3 separate regions of the Homo sapiens genome follow, and all the other regions are linked to region 3. Evidence: promoter capture Hi-C in 16 types of primary human blood cells and fetal thymus (Javierre and others, 2016). All regions are on one chromosome and are shown on one strand. Each heading gives the region's core, a stretch centred on a gene start or on the middle of the fragment in contact. The rest is flanking DNA. Distances are from core to core; before and after follow the strand shown. Region 1 has its middle 80 kb from the start of IL21-AS1. Region 2 has its middle 63 kb from the start of IL21-AS1. Region 3 holds the start of IL2 (interleukin 2).

Region 1 (3,781 bases), core at 1,172-3,671, 82 kb before region 3:
AGTGCAAAGGCACTGACTCCATGTATGTATATGCAGTAGGCAAATGTTTCTGAGAGTGGCGTCATCAATTGTCCATGACTTAGTTCTGCCTGTAGCAATTCAGGAGTGAAAGGCAACCCTTGCTGCTTCCTTCCCAGAATGAGACTTTCACTGAGAATTCATCTGCTTGCTGGAAACTGACAGCCATAAAAAAACCTTAGTTTCTTTCTGGAAGCCAGACCTGGTGCTGGAAATATAAAAGTTTGCTCTTACTCCAGAGAAGAGTGATTTATCATGGGGGTCACAATCTGCTGCATCAGTCTGTGACATGTTGCAAAACTGGTATGAGATTTCTTTCTTTGATCGAATCAACTATGTTTGTGAACTCTAATTTATCAACATTTCTCTTGACCATATGGGTTTCAGACAGCAATCCTGCCCTGTAATTCTGTATAGAATATCACTCCAGTCCCCTGAGGACTTATTCTTTTTCTTTATTGATTCAGCCTCAAGACTGCAGTTGTTCAACTGCAAGGTAAAATGAGGTGTCTCCCTGTCTGTTATTACCTTCAGCTTAATTCACCATCACTCCCATGTCTGCAGCTTGTTTGGGTATTCCCTGGGTGTTTTTTTCTTTTTGTCAGGGTTATTTATTTATTTATTTTATGGCGCAGAATATATCTACAGTGTCGAAATGCAGTCTGCTTTGCTAATTTTATTAGTCAGAATATTAGGGATTTAAAACTGAAGGGTTTATAAATCAGACAATTTTTCACTTTTCTGTTACAGCAACTTAGACAATGCCCATTATGTGACACTTCCCTCTACCATAATCAGAAAGACAGGAAACCACAAATTACCTCATTTTGCCTGATAATTCTGGGCTCTGACTCACTTAGAAGGTGTGATTAGAATCATAGAATTTAAATCTTGAAGGGAATAGAGAGGTCATCTCACTGACTTATCATGGGAATCACCTGAGGCTGTTTTTTGTTGCTTTTTAAAAATACAAGATTCCTTTTCTCTTCTCCCCACCCCCGGAGATACTGATTTTCTAGGTCTGACTTGGAGCTCCAGAATCTGTACTTTTAGAAGGTTCCTAGGTGATTCAGAGCATTAGCTCAGTCTGTTATCCATTATACAGTTCTCTCTCCCTTCAAATGAAGGAATATCTACTTTCACATTCTTGATTTGTGAATATCCAGCTTTTGTAGGAACAGTGTAAGAAATGTGGCCTTCCCTGTAGAGTCATGCTTGTCACTTCACAAATTGACTGCATAGTACTACACATTCGTTATTTACTCTTTCTCAAGCATGTGTTGAATGCTATGCTGAGTCCTAGTACTAGCAATAGGAACTATTTGTGAAGGACTCGCAAAGGACAAGCACTGTACAAAACATTTTACAAACAAGATATTTAATCTGCACAACAGTCCTCCTGCGAGGTAGGTTTGTATAGATGTACCCATTTTAAGAAGACATTTAGGAGAGAGAGAATTTAAACCAACATCTTCTGAAGTCTCTATTGCTCATATGTTTTCCAGTATACCATGTGTATCATCCAGTTACACAATAATTACATAGATAGGTAGATACACTAACACTATGCTTTTTTAAAAGAGAAACTAGTTTCTCTTAGTTTCAGGAAATATGCTTATTTTTTTCTGACCATCTTAATTATGCAAATAATACTTATAGTCAATAACTATTGATGACTTATAATCTCCCAAATACACCCAGGTACCATAAATACCATTTTATGCTATTTACCTGTATTAATTCATTTCTTAAACAAATCCTATGAAGTACATATTATTATTCTTCCCAATTTGTAGATGAAAAAAATTAAGACTTAAAGGGCCAAATAACCTGCCCAATATCTTGGGCAGCAAGTGGGCAAGCTGGGATTTAAACCTAAGGAGTCTGGCTCTAAAGCCTTTGCTGTCACTCACTATACTCTATTATCTCTCAAGCATAGACACCAGTTATCATGGGTTAGAATATAAAAAGGCATTATTATTTTTTGATGATGATGATGACTTACTCCATCAGTGCTATCATTTCCTAAGACCCCTGTCACTGGAGAGGAGGTAGATTATGTTTGTTTGTTTGAATTTTCCACATTTTATTTATATCAAAATCAGAATTTATTATAATTTTACTTTCCTGGCTTAAAAGGAAGTTAACTTATCTATAATATATTTAAAATATTCTCAGTTTATCTCATTTCAAAATGAGAGTATTGCCAAATACCTGCATGGCTTTTTTATAATTAGCAATTATCTTAAGTAATTTTTCATGTATTTCAGCTCACTGAAACATCTCTGCAAACCCCACTGTGACTAGTATTGAATCCGGTCTACTCTCATTTTTTTTTTTTTTTTTGTAATGGATCAAGTTTTTAAAGAGCTCAAAGCCTTTGGGACAAATCCAGACCAGGAGATAGGGAAAGGAATTAAGGCCTTTGAAATGAAATTATTTTGAGAAAGGTAAAGTCTAGGATGGTTCTCTGGGGTCAAGGAAAGGCTCACGAGGATGGTCATGAGTGAGGATTGCTATGAGCATAGTCTTGGGACTAGTGCCAGAGTACCTTTGGGCTCTTACAGCAGAGACAAAAGAGGGTTTGGGGAATGAGATAACACAAAAAATTAGCTAGTCAAGTCAGACTCACCTAAATCCAAACCTTTACCCAACATTGAGCTTTTACAAAAATTTCAAGATACAGGCAATCAAGAGACTCAAATGAAGCAAAGAGGGATCTGAGACATTGAGGGTGGTTCCTTGGATCCTATCTTTTCATGTCAAACATTTACTCTCTGGCCCAGAATAATAAATGAGGATCTTCTAGTGACATTTAAAGGTTTTTTTTTTCTCACGCAGAAGGAGGAGCATTTGAGTCATACAATATCTCCATTTTATATCTCAAAGAATGACATTTTCCAGGGAGCTGTGCCTTATGTCGCCATATATCGTAGATTTATTTACACTAAGTCAGTGGTATTCAACAGATGAAATCTCTTCCTGCTAACAAACATCATTCATCTATTTACTTAGAGGTCCAATTGATAAGAAAATCAGATTGGGGCACTTGCCCTCTTTTCTTTCTCTCAGAGGTTGGCCCTTGGTAAAGGAAATTAATGGGTCACAGGCCAGATGCTTTACTTTCTTTGTCCATTGTAAACTGTGGCTCAGCAAGAGGAGACAGAGTGGCAGAGCTGGCCCTGGACCAGCATGAGCATCCCCGAACAGTGGACAAGCACTTTCCTTCAAACTGGGTCACACTATGCTTGAATAGAAACCCAGTGGGATGAAAAGATCCCCATTGGACTGAGTAAATCTCTGAAAAATAAAAGCTGTTACCTTATTTGTATACTACATTGAATAAACTGTTTATATATTTCCATGTGTAAATAAATAAATGTATGCCTACAAATAGTATTGACCATTCATAACAAGTCCATAGACTAGTGCAGTGATTCTCAAGCTGGGGTGATACCACTCTGCCCAGTAATATTTGGAGATGGGTGATGAGCCTTTTTTGGTTGTCACAGTAACTAGGGGGCACTGCTAGCATTTAGTGGGATGGAGCCAGGAACACTGCACAATAAATTGTCTCACTCAAAATGCCAGTATGTACTCTGTTGAGAAACTTTGCTCATGAGAGATCCACAGGTATGCCATCATAGTCTGCATGACAGAAGTGTGCCAAGTTCTACCTATGCCGCATTGTGGTATGCTGAATTTATCCCAAAACAGTGGTAGGGAGGAATTAAGAGTAGTTCTGTACATACACAAATCTTTA
Region 2 (3,653 bases), core at 871-3,370, 99 kb before region 3:
CCGGGTTCACGCCATTCTCCTGCCTCAGCCTCCCCAGCAGCTGGGACTACAGGCGCATGCTGCCACGCCCGGCTGATTTTTTGTATTTTTAGTAGAGACGGGGTTTCACCGTGTTAACCAGGATGGTCTGGATCTCCTGACCTTGTGATCCGCCCACCTCGGCCTCCCACAGTGCTAGGATTACAGGCGTGAGCCACTGCGTCCGGCCTCCTCTCTTGGTTTTTAGGAATTGAAGCCACATGTGGGGGCACAGGACTGTAGTTCCAGCTACCCGGGAGGCTGAGATGGGAGGAATGCTTGAGCCCAGGAGTTCAAGTTCAGCCTGGGCCACATAGTAAGACCCCTGTATTTTTTTAAAAAAGGAATTGAGGAACACTTCTATCTGATTCTTCTACCTCTCTGTTCAGTCCTCCTCAGACTCATTGCTGGTTCCTGTTTCTTAATCCATTTATTAGTCCTGCTGTTTCCTTGAATTTTTCCTTCATTTGCTTTTCTTCTCCTTTTTTTTTCCTGCTGATCTAACTTATTTTTTTAGCTTTAATTTTATGTATAAATGACTCCCAAATCTACATTCCAGTCCTGATTTCTTTCCTTATCTCCAGACCTATATATCTGTCTACTAGATATATCCACCTTAATAACTTCCAGGCATTCTGAACTCAACATATTTTCTTTTCAAATCTGCTATTGTCCTTTCATTGTCTGTTTTGGTTAATGACATCCTATCCACCCACTTGCCCAGGCTGGAAAACTTGGAGTCATCCTAGATTCTTGTATCTTTTTTGTTCCCATCTCACATTTCATCAGTCACTAAGATAGGTGGATTCTTACAGCACATACCACACAGATCCTTGTTGACTTGACCTTCCCCGTGCCCCACCTCCACTACATGAGCAATTTGAAAGCAGAAGCTATGTCTATTCAATTATGAATCCTTAGTTCATACCACTGAGCCTGGTACTTGGTACACTAGTGGCTTTGCAAATGTTTCTGTATTGTTGCTGATTCTCCTGAACACATATAATTTACAAGCATTGCTCAATGCTTGGGTCCAATAAGGCAGAGGTCCCCAACCCTCAGGCCAGGGACTGGTATTAGTCCGTGGCCTGTTAGGAACTCTGCTGCACAGCAGGAGGTGAGCAGCAGTCCAAGGAGCATTATGACCTGAGCTCCACCTCCCGTCAGATCAGCGGCAGCATTAGATTCTTATAGGAGTGTGAACCTCATTGTGAACTGCACATGCAAGGGATCTAGGTTGCATGCTCCTTATGAGAATCTAATGACTGATGATCTGTCACAGTCTCACACCACCCCCAGTTGGGACTATCTAGTTGCAGGAAAATAAGCTCAGGGCTCCCACTGATTCTATATTTTGATGAATTGTATAATTATTTCAATATATATTACAATGTAATAATAATAGAAATAAAGTGCACAATAAATGTAATATGCTTGAATCATCCCCAAACCATCCCCCAACCCCCTGTCTGTGGAATAACGGTCTTCCACAAAACTGGTTCCTGATGCCAAAAAAGGTTGGGGACTGCTGAAATAAGGATGAAGAACATCCTTTGATATATTTGTTTCTTTTAATAGAAAAGCACATGATACATTTACATTTTTCTAGTGGATTATAGTTCTCACTATAATTTCTATAGAGAAATCAAGATTTTTAATTTCTGTACTGAAATCAAGCCCACTTTCCCTTCAAAAGGAAGTACATAAAGGAAAGGATCCCATGAAAATGCCAAATACTATGCAGCCATAAAAAATGATGAGTTCATGTCCTTTGTAGGGACATGGATGAAATTGGAAATCATCATTCTCAGTAAACTATCGCAAGAAAAAAAACCAAACACCGCATATTCTCACTCATAGGTGGGAATTGAACAATGAAAACACATGGACACAGGAAGGGGAACATCACACTCTGGGGACTGTTGTGGGGTGGGGGGAGGGGGGAGGGATAGCTTTAGGAGATATACCTAATGCTAAATGACGAGTTAATGGGTGCAGCACACCAGCATGGCACATGGATACATATGTAACTAACCTGCACATTGTGCACATGTACCCTAAAACTTAAAGTATAATAATAATAAAATAAAATTTTAAAAAAATTGTCAAGAAGTTTCAATGAAGAGTGATTTGCCTTAGTTTGGGTCCCCTCCAAAGTGAGCCTGAGATAAGAACATGGGAGCAGATCTCTCCATATTTGGGTGGTGCTCCCAGGAAGCAGGAGTGAGGGAGAAGGGAGAGTTAGAGAAGAAAAAAAAAAAAAAACAAAAACCAAAAACAGGAAAGAAGGGTTTACTGGTTTACTGAGCTGGTTTCTACTGTGAACAACTGGGACCCAATCCCAAGGAGACCCTCCAAGGAAGTAATGCAGAATGCCCCAGCAGATTGTTCAAGTGCAGAAGAGGCATTTATCTACTGACTCCCTTCTACCCCTGGAGGAAGGTTATCTCCAGGAAAATAAACCTTTCTGCACTCCCGGGCTGCTCATATATACGGGCCAATGAATTCTGCTGATTTTGATAAAAACCACAGGACAGGAAAGAGGAAAGGCTTATGATGGATGCCTGATGTATGATTAATGGCATGCATAGCACTGTTCACCATGGCTGCAGTTGAAATCAAAGGTAAACTGAGAGAAAAACACATCTGTTCTAAGAATGAAATATGATAAAACTAGAGAAACAGGCTTTCTGGGTATCTGAACAGATGGGGGTGGGTGCAAGATGAAGACTTGAATGAGTTTAATGACTATTTCCACTAGAAACATCCTTGGGTGTTCCCTTGCTTTTTTTTAATTTTAAAAGAAATAGGGTAGGCTGGGAAGGGAGCAAGTGGTGAGGAGTGTGTCAGAGCCAGAGATAGACACCTGTATGCTGGCTCCCCCCACCCCAGTTCAACTCCCTACTGACTATCTCTATTTGAGAGGATGCAAAAGCTAAATAGTTTATTTCCCAGTCTTCTTTGCTAGAATACCTAGAATTACCACGTGATATCATTCTGGCAACAAAGCACTAGAGAATGGCCAGGTGCAGTGGCTCATGCCTGTAATCCCAGCACCTTGGGAGGCTGAGGCACTTTGGGAGACTTGAGGTCAGGTGTTTGAGACCAGCCTGGCCAACATGATGAAACCTCGTCTCTACTAAAAATACAAAAATTAGCTGGGCGTGGTGGTGCATGCCTGTAATCCCAACTACTTGGGTGGCTGAGGCACGAGAATCGCTTGAACCTGGGAGGCACAGGTTGCAGTGAGCCGAGATTGCACATCTGTGCTCCCGCCTGGGCGACAGAATGAGACTCTGTCTCAAAAACAAAAACATTAGAGAAAATCTGTTGACACTAACCTCTTTCTCCCTGCTCCTCTTCTACAGTCTTAGATGAACATGAATGTGATGTTCAGAGCTGTAGTGTCCATCTTATAAACATGAAGTGACAAACAAGGAAGAAAGTCCAAACTGATATAGAGGCAATGCAAATCCCAATAGGGCTGGGTCCTATTAAGCCTTGGCCAGTCCAGTCTGTGCAGGCCTCTGGCTACTGCTTCACCTAAACATTTCCTTTATGGAAAGGTGACTAGCTCAAGGAAAATGCTCAAGTCTAGCTCCAATCCAATTATCATAGTAGAATCCTATCAATCA
Region 3 (3,915 bases), core at 40-2,539:
AAAATCCAGTTTAAATTAATTGTTCCTTATTCAAGATTCCTTATATCCACCTCCCTTGGGGCAGCAATCACCTATCACCCAGGACTACACTTGTGTATGTACATATCTTCCCTATTACAAATCAGGTTCTTTGAAAAAATACAAATGGTAAGAGAGTGGATTTTTGGAGTCAGAACATTCTCTTTTCAAATCCTTCTTCTGCCCCTTACTGGCAATAAGGGCTGAGTGACCTAGAGCAAATTACTTAACTTCTCTGAGCCTCAGTTTTCTAATCTGCAAAATAGGAGCCATCACTTCACAAGTCTGTAAGACTTATATTAGACTAAGTGCCTGCCTGTACACTGTTCTCTTTTCTCTCTTTCTATATACCTGAAGGCATTATAGGTGCTAGATGTCTGTTTAAAGACCAGACAATATTGTCTTAAAAAAACAAACAAAAACACAGACAATACCATCTTTAAAAAAAAAAAAAAAGTCCAGGTAAGAAATAAATAAGGCCATAGAATGGAAGCTTTACAAGGACTCTCTCTGAGACAGGATCTCCTCAAGTGTCCCCAGGTTAAATTAGAAGTATATATCCGTACAATTGTTCAGCCAGTTTGTGCACTGTACTGAGGATGAATGAACACCTATCCTAAATATCCTAGTCTTCTGACTAAAAACAAGATCATATTTCATAACGATTATTGTTACATTCATAGTGTCCCAGGTGATTTAGAGGATAAATAAAAATCCATTAAAGAGGTAAAGACATAAAAACGAGAAACATGGACTGGTTTACACATAACACATACAAAGTCTATTATAAAACTAGCATCAGTATCCTTGAATGCAAACCTTTTTCTGAGTATTTAACAATCGCACCCTTTAAAAAATGTACAATAGACATTAAGAGACTTAAACAGATATATAATCATTTTAAATTAAAATAGCGTTAAACAGTACCTCAAGCTCAATAAGCATTTTAAGTATTCTAATCTTAGTATTTCTCTAGCTGACATGTAAGAAGCAATCTATCTTATTGTATGCAATTAGCTCATTGTGTGGATAAAAAGGTAAAACCATTCTGAAACAGGAAACCAATACACTTCCTGTTTTATCAACAAATCTAAACATTTATTCTTTTCATCTGTTTACTCTTGCTCTTGTCCACCACAATATGCTATTCACATGTTCAGTGTAGTTTTATGACAAAGAAAATTTTCTGAGTTACTTTTGTATCCCCACCCCCTTAAAGAAAGGAGGAAAAACTGTTTCATACAGAAGGCGTTAATTGCATGAATTAGAGCTATCACCTAAGTGTGGGCTAATGTAACAAAGAGGGATTTCACCTACATCCATTCAGTCAGTCTTTGGGGGTTTAAAGAAATTCCAAAGAGTCATCAGAAGAGGAAAAATGAAGGTAATGTTTTTTCAGACAGGTAAAGTCTTTGAAAATATGTGTAATATGTAAAACATTTTGACACCCCCATAATATTTTTCCAGAATTAACAGTATAAATTGCATCTCTTGTTCAAGAGTTCCCTATCACTCTCTTTAATCACTACTCACAGTAACCTCAACTCCTGCCACAATGTACAGGATGCAACTCCTGTCTTGCATTGCACTAAGTCTTGCACTTGTCACAAACAGTGCACCTACTTCAAGTTCTACAAAGAAAACACAGCTACAACTGGAGCATTTACTGCTGGATTTACAGATGATTTTGAATGGAATTAATGTAAGTATATTTCCTTTCTTACTAAAATTATTACATTTAGTAATCTAGCTGGAGATCATTTCTTAATAACAATGCATTATACTTTCTTAGAATTACAAGAATCCCAAACTCACCAGGATGCTCACATTTAAGTTTTACATGCCCAAGAAGGTAAGTACAATATTTTATGTTCAATTTCTGTTTTAATAAAATTCAAAGTAATATGAAAATTTGCACAGATGGGACTAATAGCAGCTCATCTGAGGTAAAGAGTAACTTTAATTTGTTTTTTTGAAAACCCAAGTTTGATAATGAAGCCTCTATTAAAACAGTTTTACCTATATTTTTAATATATATTTGTGTGTTGGTGGGGGTGGGAAGAAAACATAAAAATAATATTCTCACTTTATCGATAAGACAATTCTAAACAAAAATGTTCATTTATGGTTTCATTTAAAAATGTAAAACTCTAAAATATTTGATTATGTCATTTTAGTATGTAAAATACCAAAATCTATTTCCAAGGAGCCCACTTTTAAAAATCTTTTCTTGTTTTAGGAAAGGTTTCTAAGTGAGAGGCAGCATAACACTAATAGCACAGAGTCTGGGGCCAGATATCTGAAGTGAAATCTCAGCTCTGCCATGTCCTAGCTTTCATGATCTTTGGCAAATTACCTACTCTGTTTGTGATTCAGTTTCATGTCTACTTAAATGAATAACTGTATATACTTAATATGGCTTTGTGAGAATTAGTAAGTAAATGTAAAGCACTCAGAACCGTGTCTGGCATAAGGTAAATACCATACAAGCATTAGCTATTATTAGTAGTATTAAAGATAAAATTTTCACTGAGAAATACAAAGTAAAATTTTGGACTTTATCTTTTTACCAATAGAACTTGAGATTTATAATGCTATATGACTTATTTTCCAAGATTAAAAGCTTCATTAGGTTGTTTTTGGATTCAGATAGAGCATAAGCATAATCATCCAAGCTCCTAGGCTACATTAGGTGTGTAAAGCTACCTAGTAGCTGTGCCAGTTAAGAGAGAATGAACAAAATCTGGTGCCAGAAAGAGCTTGTGCCAGGGTGAATCCAAGCCCAGAAAATAATAGGATTTAAGGGGACACAGATGCAATCCCATTGACTCAAATTCTATTAATTCAAGAGAAATCTGCTTCTAACTACCCTTCTGAAAGATGTAAAGGAGACAGCTTACAGATGTTACTCTAGTTTAATCAGAGCCACATAATGCAACTCCAGCAACATAAAGATACTAGATGCTGTTTTCTGAAGAAAATTTCTCCACATTGTTCATGCCAAAAACTTAAACCCGAATTTGTAGAATTTGTAGTGGTGAATTGAAAGCGCAATAGATGGACATATCAGGGGATTGGTATTGTCTTGACCTACCTTTCCCACTAAAGAGTGTTAGAAAGATGAGATTATGTGCATAATTTAGGGGGTGGTAGAATTCATGGAAATCTAAGTTTGAAACCAAAAGTAATGATAAACTCTATTCATTTGTTCATTTAACCCTCATTGCACATTTACAAAAGATTTTAGAAACTAATAAAAATATTTGATTCCAAGGATGCTATGTTAATGCTATAATGAGAAAGAAATGAAATCTAATTCTGGCTCTACCTACTTATGTGGTCAAATTCTGAGATTTAGTGTGCTTATTTATAAAGTGGAGATGATACTTCACTGCCTACTTCAAAAGATGACTGTGAGAAGTAAATGGGCCTATTTTGGAGAAAATTCTTTTAAATTGTAATATACCATAGAAATATGAAATATTATATATAATATAGAATCAAGAGGCCTGTCCAAAAGTCCTCCCAAAGTATTATAATTTTTTATTTCACTGGGACAAACATTTTTAAAATGCATCTTAATGTAGTGATTGTAGAAAAGTAAAAATTTAAGACATATTTAAAAATGTGTCTTGCTCAAGGCTATATTGAGAGCCACTACTACATGATTATTGTTACCTAGTGTAAAATGTTGGGATTGTGATAGATGGCATCCAAGAGTTCCTTCTCTCTCAACATTCTGTGATTCTTAACTCTTAGACTATCAAATATTATAATCATAGAATGTGATTTTTATGCTTCCACATTCTAACTCATCTGGTTCTAATGATTTTCTATGCAGATTGGAAAAGTAATCAGCCTACATCTGTAATAGGCATTTAGATGCAGAAAGTCTAA

What was found. Contacts are between HindIII fragments. The CHiCAGO score rates a contact against its expected background, and 5 or more counts as called.
Region 1: a contact is called between a fragment that was not itself captured here and the fragment with the promoter of IL2 in region 3, in 1 of 17 cell types (activated CD4 T cells). The highest score is 6.9, in activated CD4 T cells.
Region 2: a contact is called between a fragment that was not itself captured here and the fragment with the promoter of IL2 in region 3, in 1 of 17 cell types (activated CD4 T cells). The highest score is 6.9, in activated CD4 T cells.

What each region holds. Positions count from the first base shown.
Region 1 is chr4:122,537,352-122,541,132 of GRCh38, reverse strand. No RefSeq gene overlaps it. Among named protein-coding and RNA genes, the nearest start is that of IL21-AS1, 80 kb to the left of the region's middle. The HindIII fragment of the contact is 7,362 bases long and covers 1-3,781 here.
Region 2 is chr4:122,554,321-122,557,973 of GRCh38, reverse strand. No RefSeq gene overlaps it. Among named protein-coding and RNA genes, the nearest start is that of IL21-AS1, 63 kb to the left of the region's middle. The HindIII fragment of the contact is 6,323 bases long and covers 1-3,653 here.
Region 3 is chr4:122,454,099-122,458,013 of GRCh38, reverse strand. IL2 (interleukin 2) reads left to right here and starts at 1,289. Exons shown (of 4, transcript NM_000586.4): 1 at 1,289-1,720; 2 at 1,811-1,870. The coding sequence starts at 1,574. The HindIII fragment of the contact is 2,130 bases long and covers 514-2,643 here.